Regions from separate parts of the Homo sapiens genome. Here region 1 is linked to region 2. The links are contacts of gene promoters, found by promoter capture Hi-C in human tissues and cell types (Jung and others, 2019). All regions are on one chromosome and are shown on one strand. Each heading gives the region's core, a stretch centred on a gene start or on the middle of the fragment in contact. The rest is flanking DNA. Distances are from core to core; before and after follow the strand shown.

Region 1 (6,587 bases), core at 2,823-5,322, 540 kb after region 2:
TCCATCTTCCATCCCTGTAACTCTGTTTTGTCCCCAGCTCTGAATGGAGTGCCTGACCCTTCCCTGACCGCTACCCCCCAATGGAGGACTCTCAGCAGATGGGCAGGGGATGAGGGCTTGGCCTGAGCCTCATTCCCGCAGGCTTAGGTGGCTTCATCATTACAGCCATTCCGATCAAGCAGCACAGCCAGCTGGCCAGGCCCCAAAGCTCTTGTCTAATGTGTCCGTGAAACAATGCCACCTGAGGGGCTGCGTATTCCCATGAACAAAATACATGCATGTCCATCCCTTATCTGGTTTGGGACTTGCCTGACCTGATGCTACTACCCCATATTATAGGCAAGGAGACTCTGGAAGGGAAGGTCCTTTGCCTGTGGCCACAGAGCAAAGCAGCAGCAGAGACAGCTCAGAATCTGACTGATGGCTCAGAGGCCGGGGCTCAAGGCACTCAGCTGCCCCTCCTCTCTGAGAGCTGTGTCCTGGGGATGGGCAGGAATGATGCCTGTGGGGTTAGAAGCCTGAGAGAAGGAGGGGCCAGAGCCCACATGCCTTGCCACTTCTAGGCTCAGCAAATCACTGTCGGTGCCCTGAGCTTTAGTTCCCATCTGTAAAATGGGGATCGTGATTCAGGCTCTGGCCACGTCACTAGGCACCCCCAGGAGGATGTAAAGAATTCAGGAACATGAAGCAATGGGTAAAGGGCACAGGGCGGCCTGGCAAAGTCCCATGGCAAGAATGGGGAGAGGCACACCCTTTACTCACCCCTACCACAGCTTGGCCCAGGGCCATCATTGCCACTTACTCAATGGTCCAGGCCTGTTTTCCTCCAAGCTGCCAGGCCATTCCTGGCAGAATCCACCTGACCAATACTCCCTGCAGAGTTGAGGGCACACTCAAGATTAAAACCTGAACCTCCTTGGATTCGTTTTCTATCACTGCTACAACAAATTATCATGGAATAGGTGGCTTAAAACAACAGAAATTCGTGATCTTACAGTTCTATAGGTTAGAAGGTCAACATGGGGCTGAGCGAGGTGGCTCATGCCTATAATCCCAGCACTTTGGGAGGCCAAGGTGGGTGGATCACTTGAGGTCAGGAGTTTGAGAGCAGCCTGGCCAACATGGTGAAACCCTATCTATACTAAAAATACAAAAATTAGCCAGGCATGGTGGCGGGCGTCTGTAACCCCAGCTACTCGGGAGGCTGAGGCAGGAGAATCGCTTGAACCTAGGAGATGGAGGTTGCAGTGAGCCGAGGTTGCACCACTGCACTCCAGCCTGGGCAATAGAGCAAGACTCTATCTCAAAAAAAAAAAAAAAAAAAGGCCAATGTGTGAGTCTCACTGAGCTAAGATCAAGGTGAGGAGGTGAGGGCAGGGCTGTGTTCCTTCTGGAGCCTCTAGGGTAGATAGGGTAGAACCTGTTTCCTTGTATTTTCCAGCTTCTGAAGCAGTTCCTTGGTTTGGGGCCTCTGCCTCCATCTTCAAAGGCAGCAACACATCATTTCTCTGGCCCTTCAGTCATCACATCTCTCTCTTTTTTTTTTGAGACGGAGTCTCGCTGTGTCACTCCAGCTAGAGTGCAATGGCACAATCTCGACTCACTGCAACCTCTGTCTCCCAGGTTCAAGCGATTTTCCTGCCTCAGCCCCCCAAGTAGCTGGGACTACAGGCACGTGTCACCACACCCAGCTAATTTTTTGTATTTTTAGTAGAGACGGGGTTTCACCGTGTTAGCCAGGATGGTCTTGAACTCCTGACCTTGTGATCCACCCGTCTCAGCCTCCCAAAGTGCTGGGATTACAGGCGTGAGTCGTGAGCCACCACGCCCGGCCTATCACATCTCTTTCTCTGTCTCCTGCTTCTACTTTTAAAAACCCTTGTTATTACACTGGCCCACCCAGATACTTCAGCATAAGCTATTTTAAAGTCAGCTGATTTGCAACCATAATTTCATTGGCAATTTTCTTTTTTTTCTTTTTTTTTTTTTTGAGACGGAGTCTCGCTCTGTCGCCCAGGCTGGAGTGCAGTGGTGCGATCTCGGCTCACTACAAGCTCCGCCTCCCAGGTTCATGCCATTCTCCTGCCTCAGCCTCCTGAGTAGCTGGGACTACAGGCGCCCGAGTAGCTGGGACTGCAGGTGCCTGCCACCATGCTCGGCTAATTTTTTTTTTTTTTTGTATTTTTAGTAGAGACGGGATTTCACCATATTAGCCAGGATGGTCTCGATCTCCTGACCTCGTGATCCACCTGCCTTGACCTCCCAAAGTGCTGGGATTACAGGCATGAGCCACGGCGCCCAGCCCTCATTGGCAATTTTCATTTCCATTTCTCATGTAACAAAACATATTCATAGATTACACAGGTTCGGATGTGGGCTTTTTTTCTTTTCTTTTTTTTTTTTTACATGGGTTTTTGCTCTATTGCCCAGGCTGGAGTGCAGTGGCGTGATCACAGCTCACTGCAGCCTTAACCTCCCAGGTTCAAGCAATTCTCCTACCTAAGCCTCCAGAGTACCTGGGACTACAGGCTTGAGCCACCATGTCCGGCTAATTTATTTGTTGTAGAAACAGGGTCTCACTATGTTGCTCAGGCTGGTGTCAGTGTCAAACTCCTGGACCCAAGCAATCCTCCCACCTTGGCCTCCCAAAGTGCTGGGATTATAGGCATGAGCCACAGCACCTGGCTAGATGTGAACATATTTAGGGGGGCTGTTATTTTACCTACCATGATCCCCTTCTTCCCATCCGGACCTCCCAGCTTGTCTGGCATCTTCCCCCACCCCCAGCATCCTGCCTCCCCCACTGAGGTCTTCCCGGCTCTGCCTCCCTAAAAGCCCTTCCCACACTGACAGCATTGAAGCCAACCATCCTGGTCACACTGAGCTGGCATAGCTGTCATCCTCTAGAAAGTGAGGTCTGTCCACCCCGTCACTACCCACCACTTCCTCTGCCCCACTCTTCTTAGCACTTACCCACCTGGAAGGGTATCATGATGTACCTGGGAACTTGGATTTCCCCCATTTCCCTTCTCTGGGCTGCAGGTCCCAATCCAGAGGCTGAATCCCCAGGGACAAGAACAGCGCTAGGCACTTGGTAGATACTCAACAAATCTCTCTTGAGTCACTGAGAGGTGCAGTTTCCTTCAGTCTGTCTCCAGCACCCTGTGCGGTGCCTGCCCTTCAAAACATGTTTCTGGGCCGGGCGCGGTGGCTCACGCCTGTAATTGCAGCACTTCGGGAGGCCGAGGCGGGCAGATCACTTGAGGTCGGGAATTCGAGACCAGCCTGGCCAACATGGAGAAACTCCGTCTCTACTAAGAATACAAAAATTAGCCAGGTGTGCTGGCACATGCCTGTAATCCCAGCTACTCGGGAGGCTGAGGCAGGAGAATCTCTTGAACCCAGGAGACGGAGGTTGCGGTGAGCAGTCTGGGCAACAAGAGCGAAACTCTGTCTCAAAAAAAAAAAAAGTTTCTGGCCCTGTAGGAATGACTGACTGACTGACTGAAAGAATGAATGGACCAGGAACTAGTCTGAATATGAGCCCCACCTTCACTCTGGAAGCCTGACAGCAAAGACGGGGGTCCAGGCCACGCGGCCTCTGCCTTCCCATACTGTCTTTTCTAGTGGGAGGTAAACTGATCAACTAGCTTGTAAGTTTGTAGTATTCTAACGTAGGCGCTTCCAAGGAAGTCGCTGAATATACTTGTGCCGGCGCTTCCCCGACGCAGCCCTGCAGGGAAGGATCCGGTCCAAGGTCTCTCTGCGATTTCTGAAGAATTCGGTCTTCCCGGAGCCTCTCCCCCGGCTCTTCTAGAACCGAAGGTTTTAGTTCCCATGGGCACAGCCGGAGGCCGCCTGCGCCACCCGGCCCTCAGCCGCCAGAACCAGGACAGGACTCCAGGGCGCGCGCGACCGCTGGACCCGGGAGCGGCACCTCCCACGCCGGGAGCCCCGGGCGGTGCCCGGAGTGGGGCGGGGCCTGGGCGGGGATGGGGAGGGGCTTGGCTGGCGCGGCCCCGGCATTGGCTCCGCGGGCCGGGGCGGGGCTGCGGGGTCCGCGGTGCACTCTGTAAGTTCACCGCCGGTCGGGTCCGGCCGCCGCGCTGTCCAGCTCCTGAGACCTTGCTGTCCGCCGGTCTGCCGTCTGCGCGCCTCACGGTGAGTTCGGGCTGGGATTTTCGCAGCTTCGCGGGGGTCCCCCGAGAGGCCCATCTCTGTGGCGCCCCGCCCCAGCTCGCGCCCTGGCTCTGCCTCTCACCTCACTCAGTTCCTTTCGAGGGCTCCTAGGGCTCCATGGGGCTTCCCACCCGCATCTGGGTTCCCGCAGCCTCGCCCGTGCCCGCCACGGTCCGTGGGGGCGCAACGCATCCCGACCCCGAATTCCCCGTTCTGCCCTCCATTTTGTGTCCGGGCCCCCGCCCCCCTCCCGAGACCCAGGGGTGCCCCGCCGCCCAGCATCCCCACCGGGGCTGGGGGCCGTATTTTTAGCCGATAGTGAGTTGTTCTCCTATCTTTAGCTGCGGCCGCGAATGTCCTGAAACGGATCCGGGCTGGGCTGGGCTCCGCCCGGGTAGGAGTGGGGAGGGGTCGGCGCAGGAACCCGAGCCGGAGCTAAGGAGCCGGACCCGTGGGAGGGGCGGGGGCCCGCACGCCCGAGCTCTGGCCCTGTGCCGAGCGGACACTAGGACATCGCCCAGGCCGGAAAGCACAGGGGGGAGGCTCCTCCCAGAGCTTGGAGACTAGGGCAGGGTCCCCAATCGCCCCCTTTTTCCCCGATTGTGGGACCAGAAACCCCGAAGCAAAAAGATCTCGCAGGTAATCCCCATCTGGTACTTGAACGCGCAGCTCCTTGGGGACCGCCTGCCTGGAGCCCGGGGGAGGGGCGCTGGAGACCCCGGTGCGCTCTCGGAGTCCTCCGGGACACGAGGCGATCAAGGGAGCACGCGCGCCACCTGGCGGCCGCGGAGCCGGGCACCTCTCCGGAGGCACCGGGACCCCGGGAGACCCAGCGGCCGCTAGAGGGTCTCTGCATCCTCGAGGTCTAGGAGGGCGGGAGGAGGTGGACGCCTGGGGTCAGGAGCCCTTCGTTTTTGCTATTGTTCAAAGCACTGGCCCCGGAGAATCGAAGTGCTTGAGGAAGGAAGGCCTTGTAGATATTTGCTGAATGAATGATAAAACCTACAGTGACCCGCTGAACCCCGCTATTGTACATTGGCGCTCTCACCTGCAATATTGCAGTGGGATCTCCAGTGGCCCTTTAGTGGTGGCTTCGTTGTCAGCCCATTTTATAGATGGGAAAGGTGAGACCCAGAGAGGAGAGGCGTCTTGCTGAAGGTTACTGAGGAAGTCCCAGGTGGAGCTGGATTTAAGGACAGTCTCCTGATTTAGGAGAAGAGGGGGTGTGAGGTGGCCTAATATTCTTCATGATAGGAGGATCCCTGCCTGCCGGAAGTCATTTTCTCATTGGGAGGTCCAGGGCTCCTGTCCAGGGCAATCACAGAGAGCTAGGATGCTCCTATCTGCTCCCCGACTGCTGCAGGGAGCTCCCCTCCCAGCTCCCCACAGCCCTGTCCTGATGGAGACCTCATTCTCATATCTCTGGACACATGAAAGTTGGGCAGACGGGGGCAGCCAAAGGTCAGGATGTAGATGGAGGAGATCTGGGGACCCACTGTTCCCAGCCTAGCTGTGAGCCCCTTTCTCTCCCGCTCCCCAAACATATTATGGAAGTAGGCGTGGCCCACTGCATGGGAACCACGTGGACCAGGCTGGGTACCCACTCTTCCACTTCCTAACTGGATGACGTCGCCAATGTTACTTAACATCTCTGAGGTTCAGCTTCGACTTCTGTAAAGGGCCGTAATGACCCCACCATGCCGTGACTGGGAGCTTTAAGATGAGAAACTGTGCGTGGCAAGCTGGATCCTAGGGTCTTGCAGTTGCCAAATCTAAATTCCTGGGGCGTGAGGGTTGTAATTCCCAGCTCTCCCCTGGGCCGCTGATGCTGGCCTCACCCTCGATTCTCCCCACATCTGGAATTGGGTGTGTACATCTGGCTGTGAGTGAGACAGCTGTCAGGGACGCCCAATTTGTTGTGGAAACACTCAGGCTGTCTTGGCGCTGCCGTGTGATGGGGTTGGGGGTGCGGGGAGGACCTGGCCCAGGCTCTGGGTACATCCCACCAGTCAGCCCCACGCTCCATGAGTGAAAAGGAAGACAAGCCCCCCCCAGGACTTCTCTCCTGACGAGCGACAAATTGCATGTTTGTCAGCATGGCCCCCAGGCCTGGCATGGTTGACACAGGATGAATGCGTGACGGGATTCCAAGACCTCAGGGTGCCCATGCGTCCCCACCCTTCCCCCAGCTCCTTGCAAGCTGAGCTGGATTTCCGCCACGGGAGAGTCATTCCTTTGTTTCCTGTTAAGCTCCAGGTGCTCTGGGAGGGGTAAGATGTCCGGCCTCTGTGGCTCAGTACGACTGACCCGGGTGTCCGGTCCTGGGGTGGGGTTTCCTGAGCAAGGGCCTCAGCTGGTGGGGGGAGGGGGGCAGTTGGACTCTGCTTCTCCTGCATCCTCCTTCCTCC
Region 2 (6,581 bases), core at 185-2,684:
AAGTGGGAAAAGCCCAATTCTTCAACAAGATCACCTTTGTCTTCATAAGTTTAGCCAAGATCAGCATTCAGTTTTCCTGGCCAGTTGGACACTGAGGGTCTGAACTCTTAAAAGGATCTATCAAAAATTCAACAACCTATACAATAGCAGCCAAGTTCTCCTTTCCCCGTACATAGGCAGAAACTCCCTACATTTGCCACAAAAGAGTCCTTCTATTTCCCAAGGGGTACAGGATCAGAGGGAAAAGCTTTTTAAAACAAAGCGACAGGGCAGCCGATCAGACTGAGATCTAAACATACTGAACAGATTTAAAAAAAAAAACAAACTAAAATTCTCTCCCCAAAAGAGACCAAGAAAGATCAGACCCAACCATCATCTGAAGCATGCCAACCTCTCCCGGATGAAAACCCTGCCTTGCTGTAGAAGCAGAGGAGCTATCCTTGGTACGGTTCCCATTCTGGTTCCTCAAGACCAGAAGGGAGTCGCTGCACGTCATCAGGTGAGGCTTTCACGCCCTGCTGGCATTCACAGCTAGCACCCCGTCCAGCGCTGAACACCCGCCACCCCTGTTCCCGACACCAGCGGACTGGACAGCAATAGTGGGCCCCCAGTCTATACAGTTGCGCCGCACAGCCCGGCCACCTCACTGCGTCTGCGCACAGAGCGCCTCCCGCCCGCCCAGCCCTCCCCCCACAGCGCGCGTGCGCACTCGAGGCCCTAGAACCAGGCCGCGCGCGCCCAGGGGCGCCTCCGCCCGGGCCTCCCCGTGCGCGCACGCGCGCCCCTGCCGCGTGCAGCCGCCGTCGCCGCCGCCGCGCGCCCCTCAGGCGGCCGGGCCCGTCCGCGCGACGCCTCTCGCGCTCTCTCGGCCCGACTCACCTCCTCCGCCGCCGGCCGGGCCCGGCTGCTGGTCCTTACGCGGCGGCTGGGGTGGCGGCGGCTGCGGCGGCGACACGCGCTGGTAGAGCGGCGGCGGAGGGGGCGGCTGCGGCGGCGGGTACGAGGCGCCGGGGGACGGTGGCGGTGGAGGCGGCGGCGGCTGCTGGGGAGGCGGAGGGGGCGGCGGCGGAGGCGGCGGAGGCAGCGCCGCGAAGGGGAAGGCCGCGGTCAGGGCCCCCATCGAGCCCACGGGCGGGGGCGGCGGCGGCCCGGGAGCCAGCAGCCCCGCCCCAGGCCCGGGTGCAGGCGGAGGGCCCGGCTCGAAGCCTCCTTTGGGCCCGGGGAGCGGGGGCAGCCCGGGGGGGCCCAGCTTACCCAACGGCGTGGCGTTCGCTCCGGTCGCCATGGCGCCCCCGGGGACAGGCACCGGCACCTGCTTTTCCTCTGCGGCGGCTTCTCCTTCGCAAGCCTCCCGGGGGGAGGGGACCCGAATGCGCTGCCGGAGCGCGCGGAGCCCGTCCTCTCACGCGGCGGGCGGCGGCGGCGCGAGACGCACAAAGAGGGAGGAGAGAGGGCACCGCGGGGGCGGGCCGGGGGCGGCGGGGCCGGGGCCTGGATTGGGCCGGGCCGAGGCGAAGGGTCGAAATCGGCGGCCTCCGATTGGCGGAGCCTCAGTCCTTCTTGATGCGCGCTGGGATTGGCCGAACCGTTAGGCCAAGCGAGGAAATGGCGGCGGAGTTCGGTGGGCTGGGAGGTGTCGCAGCGCGCACTTCATTTGTTACTGCGTGAACTGAGCTCCGAGTCCAGAAAGGAGGGGATGGGGTGGGGCGAACTCTATGACGGAGCGACGGCGAGCTCTCTCATTGGCTGCGGTGGTGGACTCAATCAATCTCGCCTGCGTTGTAGTGTCGCGGGATTGGCTGTCGCTGGTTCCAGCCTTTTTCTACTCCCCTCCCCCAGGGGGCAGTTTCTCCGGGATTAAGCGAGAGTCGCGGCGGAAAAGGCCCAGCCGGAACGAGATTTACGGCGGGGGAGTCCTGGAGCAGGAAGTGCGCATGCGTAGATGGAGCAAAACCGCCTCTCCACCCGTCTCCCTTCACCATCGACCCTTGGGTCCAGCAAGGAAGCCCTAAGTGACGTCAACCTTTGTTCCCATGGTAACGCAGAACCTTGGGGCGGGAGCAGGGGAGGGGCTGGCGCGCGCCGGAAAACCGGCTCAGTTGACGCTGCAGGTAAAAAGACTTCCTGTTTTTTTGGAAAAAAAAAAAAAAAAAAAAAGTGACCCAAAAAGCTACGAATAGAGACGACTTATCGAAGGATTTAAAACAGTATTTGAACTGATGCAACAACATATTAGATGAAAGGTAACAGAAGGTTGTCAGTTCAAAAATTACAAATACACACTTCTATTGGAATCTCCACGGAGTTCAGAGGATTTAATTAAATGATCTTAAAATCGTATAAAACAATAACTACGGCCGGGCGCGGTGGCTCACGCCTGTAATCCCAGCACTTTGACAGGCCGAGGCGGGCGAATCACAAGGTCAGAAGGTCGAGACCAGCCTGACCAACATGGCGAAACCCCGTCTCTACGAAAAATACAAAAATTAGTTGGGTGTAGTGGTGCACTCCTGCAATCCCAGCTTCCCAGGAGGATGAGGCAAGAGAATCGCTTGAACCCGGGAGGCGGAGGTTGCAGTGAGCCGAGATGGGGCCACTGCACTTCAGCCTGGGTGACAGAGCGAGACTGTCAAAAATAAAAATAAAAATAACTACTACAGTACTGGGAAAACTTTACAAGACGGAGCAGGAGCTTGCCTTTCCAGATGACAAACATAGTATATAAAACACAATAGGCCAGTGCCAAGGCACTGGGAGGCCAAGGCGGGGGGATCACCTGAGGTCAGGAGTTCGAGACCAACCTGACCAACACGGTGAAACCCCCGTCTCTACTAAAAGTACAAAAATTAGCCGAGCGTGGTGGCAGACGCCTATAATCCCAGCTTCTCAGGAGGCTGAGGCAGGAGAATTGCTTGAACCCAGGAGGCGGAGGTGTAGTGAGCTGAGATCGCACCACTGTACTCCAGCCTGGGCAACAGCATGAGACTCCGTCTCAAAAACAAAAAACCACAATAATAAAACAATATGATATTGTTGGTAGGAAAGACACATTAGTGCAACAGAATCCGGAAATACCACAAATGTAGTATTTTATTTCAATCAGGAAAAGATGATTTCGTTGATAAATGGCGTAGAATCTTAAATTTAAACAACAAAACATTTAGAATATAATTTAGGAGACTATAAGGGTATTCTAGGGGTTGAGAGACTGCAAAGACAGGAACCTCAAACTGTAAAAAGATATACTTGATTACCCCGAAAATTAACACTGATAAAAGTCAAGAGACAATGATAGATGAGGAAAAAATATTTGCCATACATGATAAAGAGCCAATACCTGTAATATACAAATACATCTTAAAAACTAATTAGAAAAAAGGCAAAAACAATAGAAAATGAGCAAAAAATAGGAATGGACATGTCTCAGAAGAACAAATCCAAATAGCCAAGAAATATGAAAGGGTGCACAACCCCTCTGCTGTGGTTTTTTAAAATAAATAGAAAAGATGTTGGAACCCCCACAACACTTGAAACCTGGAGAGAGAGGTGACTGTGATCTCAGCCATGTATGGTTATAATTTTTTCTGAGATAATAAATTAGACCTGCTTGTTTTTCTTGTTCTGTACAATTATTGGAGAGAATTAAACATGGGACAAAAACCTGCTGCCTTCTTAATGACCCTTCTTATAGATAACTTCCCTTTTGTTGTCCTGCTTTACTTAGACCAGATGACAGCAAACCCATGACTATTACACCCTCTGTAAAAAATGTTAAATGTATGCCTCCCAAAAAGAAACACTGCTTACAACCAAATTATTTATTATTATTATTTCAATTTGAGACAGAGTCTGGCTCTGTCGCCCAGGCTGGAGTGCAATGGCACAATCTCGGCTCACTGCACCCTCTGCCTCCCAGATTCAAGCGATTCTCCCACCTCAGCCTCCTGAGTAGCCGGGATTACAGCCACCTGCCATCATGCCCAGCTAATTGTTACATTTTTGTAAAGATGGAATTTCACCATGTTGGCCAGGCTGGTCTTGAACTCCTGACCTCAGGTGATCTGCCCGCCTCGGCCTCCCAAAGTGCTGGGATTACAGGAGTGGACCACTGCACTCGGCCTATAACCAAATTACTGTAAGTACGCACTGACCATATATGAAGAATGTAATCCTAAAACTCCTCTGCCTTTGTGTGTGTAAATGAAACCTTAACTTCTCTACTTCGAAACACTGACTCCATTCATTTGGAGTCGGTGTTTCCAGGTAGTCCACCCTCATGTTTTGTGCTTGAATAAACTATTGAAATTAGATTCTGACCCTTTTGATTACTTTAGGTGGACAGGTTTGAATGTGTCCCCCAAAGCTCATGTGTTAGAAACTTAATCTCCATCCAGGCGCGGTGGCTCCAACACTTTGGGAGGCCGAGGTGGGTGGATCACCTGAGGTCAGGAGTTCGAGACCAGCCTGGCCAACATGAATCTCCTGCCTCAGCCTCCCAAGTAGTTGGGATTACAGGTGCCGCCACTATGCCTGGCTAATTTTTTGTATTTTTAATAGAGACAGGGTTTCACCATGTTGGCCAGGCTGGTCTCGAACTCCTTACCTCAGGTGATCCACCCACCTTGGCCTCCCAAACTGCTGGGATTATAGGCGTGAGCCACCGTGCCCAGCCAGAAATCTCTATTCTTTATAAATTACCCAGACTGGGTGTGGTGGCTAATGCCTGTAATCCCAGCACTTTGAGAGTCTGAGGTGGGAGGATCTCTTGAGCTCAGAAGTTTGTGACCAGCCTGGGCAACATCTACTAAAAAAATAAAAAATAAAAAAAAAATGCTGGTCATGGTGGTCCATGTCTATAGTCCCAGCTACACAAGAGGCTGAAGCAGGAGGATTACTTGAGCCCAGGAGATCAAGGCTGCAATGAGCTATGATCACGCCACTGCAATCCAGCCTGAGCAACAGAGCAAGACCCTGTCTCAAATAAATAAATTACCCAGTCTCAGGGATTCTGTTATAGCAGTACCACCTTAGACTGTGCTGAGTTTGTGCGACTGAGACTAGCTAATTTATTTACCAGTATTTAGACACTGCCTATAAGGGAAATACAAATTAAGGTGATAATGAGGAATCTCAAAATAAATGAAAATAGCAGAACATAAATGTGCTAACACCTACTATCGTTAATCTTTTAGAAAGCATTCTGTTGTCTATTAAAATTGTTCCCCCTTTCAAAAAATAAAAAAATATGCACCTGTACTCACAGCTACTTGTGAAGCTGAGGTGGGAGGATCCCTTGAGCCCAGGAGGTAAAGGCAGAAGTGAGCTGTGATTGGGCGACAGAGTGAGACTCTGTCTCAAAAGAAAGAAAACATAAACCCTTTCGATCCAATATCCCACTCCTGGGAATCTGCCCCCAAACAAGCCATGTGATTATATAATGTTTTCAAAGTCTTCTGCATTTACTGCAGCATTGTTTGTAGTGGTAAAAATGGGCAAACAGAGTGAATTTCCATCAATATATGAACGACTGAATTGGAAAACCCATAACCTAGAATATTAGGCAGCTTTGAAAAGCTGTTAATTCATACCAACCAACCTAAAGTAACTACTGTTCTGTGTTAACAAAGAAATACATATGACATGGCTTTGTTTTTGTAACACAAACCCCATACAGATGTGTGCATGTTTGCATATGATTATCTGAGCATAACAAAGGCTACAGAAGGATACACAGCACATGCTCTATTGCAGAGTGAAATGGGCGGCTGGAAGTTGCCCAACACATCTTAAACATCCAACTTTTTTTTTTTTTTTTCTTATGAGATGGAGTCTTGCTCTGTCACCCAGACCAGAGTGCAGTGGCATGATCTTGGCTCACTGCAACCTCCTCCTCCTGGGTTCAAGCGATTCTCGTGACTCAGCCTCCAGAGTAGCTCGGATTACAGGCATGCGCCACCATGCTTGGCTAATTTTTGTATTTTTAGTAGAGACGGGGTTTCACCATGTTGGCCAGGCTGGTCTCAAACTCCTGATCTCAAGTGATTCGCCCGCCTCAGCCTCCCAAAGTGCTGGGATTACAGGCGTGAGCCACCAAACCCAGCCTAAAAATCCAAAGTTAAAAAAAAAATGCTTCATACGCTTAACAAATGTATTACATGATTCCATTTTTGCAACATTATATAACTATAGGCATTGAGAAATGCACCAAGGGCTGGGTGCAGTGGCTCACACTTGTAATCTCAGCACTTTGGGAAGGCAAGGCAGGAGGATTGCTTGAGGCCAGGAGTTCGAAACCAGCCTGGGCAACATAGGGAGAATGTCTCTACAGAAACAAAAATAATAATAATCAGCTGAGCGTGATGTGTGCCTGTAGTTCCAGCTACTTGGGAGGCTGAGGCAGGAGGATTGTTTGACCCCAAAGAGTTTGAGGCTGCAATAAGCTGTGATCACACCACTGCACTGAAGCCTGAGTGACAGAGGGAGACCCTGTCTCAAAAAAAAAAAAAAAAAAAAAAAAAAAAGGCTGGGTGCGGTGGCTCACACCTGTAATCCCAGCACTTTGGGAGGCCGAGGCAGGCAGA

Evidence for each region. Contacts are between HindIII fragments. The study calls those that stand out against the background at their distance.
Region 1: the fragment with the promoter of CDC42EP2 here is called in contact with the fragment with the promoter of SF1 in region 2 in 1 of the 25 tissues and cell types used here (lymphoblastoid cells).

The regions. Positions count from the first base shown.
Region 1 is chr11:65,310,794-65,317,380 of GRCh38, forward strand. It overlaps CDC42EP2 (CDC42 effector protein 2), which reads left to right and starts at 4,073. Exons shown (of 2, transcript NM_006779.4): 1 at 4,073-4,161. LOC105369344 (a long non-coding RNA gene) reads right to left here and starts at 3,896. Exons shown (of 3, transcript XR_007062727.1): 1 at 2,978-3,896. RefSeq lists an enhancer at 1-390 and silencers at 3,731-4,110, 4,571-4,700, 4,871-5,030. The HindIII fragment of the contact is 18,736 bases long and covers 1-6,587 here.
Region 2 is chr11:64,777,108-64,783,688 of GRCh38, forward strand. SF1 (splicing factor 1) reads right to left here and starts at 1,435. Exons shown (of 13, transcript NM_004630.4): 1 at 1,255-1,435. The coding sequence starts at 1,285. RefSeq lists silencers at 580-889, 1,150-1,549 and enhancers at 1,212-1,813, 1,790-1,899. The HindIII fragment of the contact is 16,194 bases long and covers 1-6,581 here.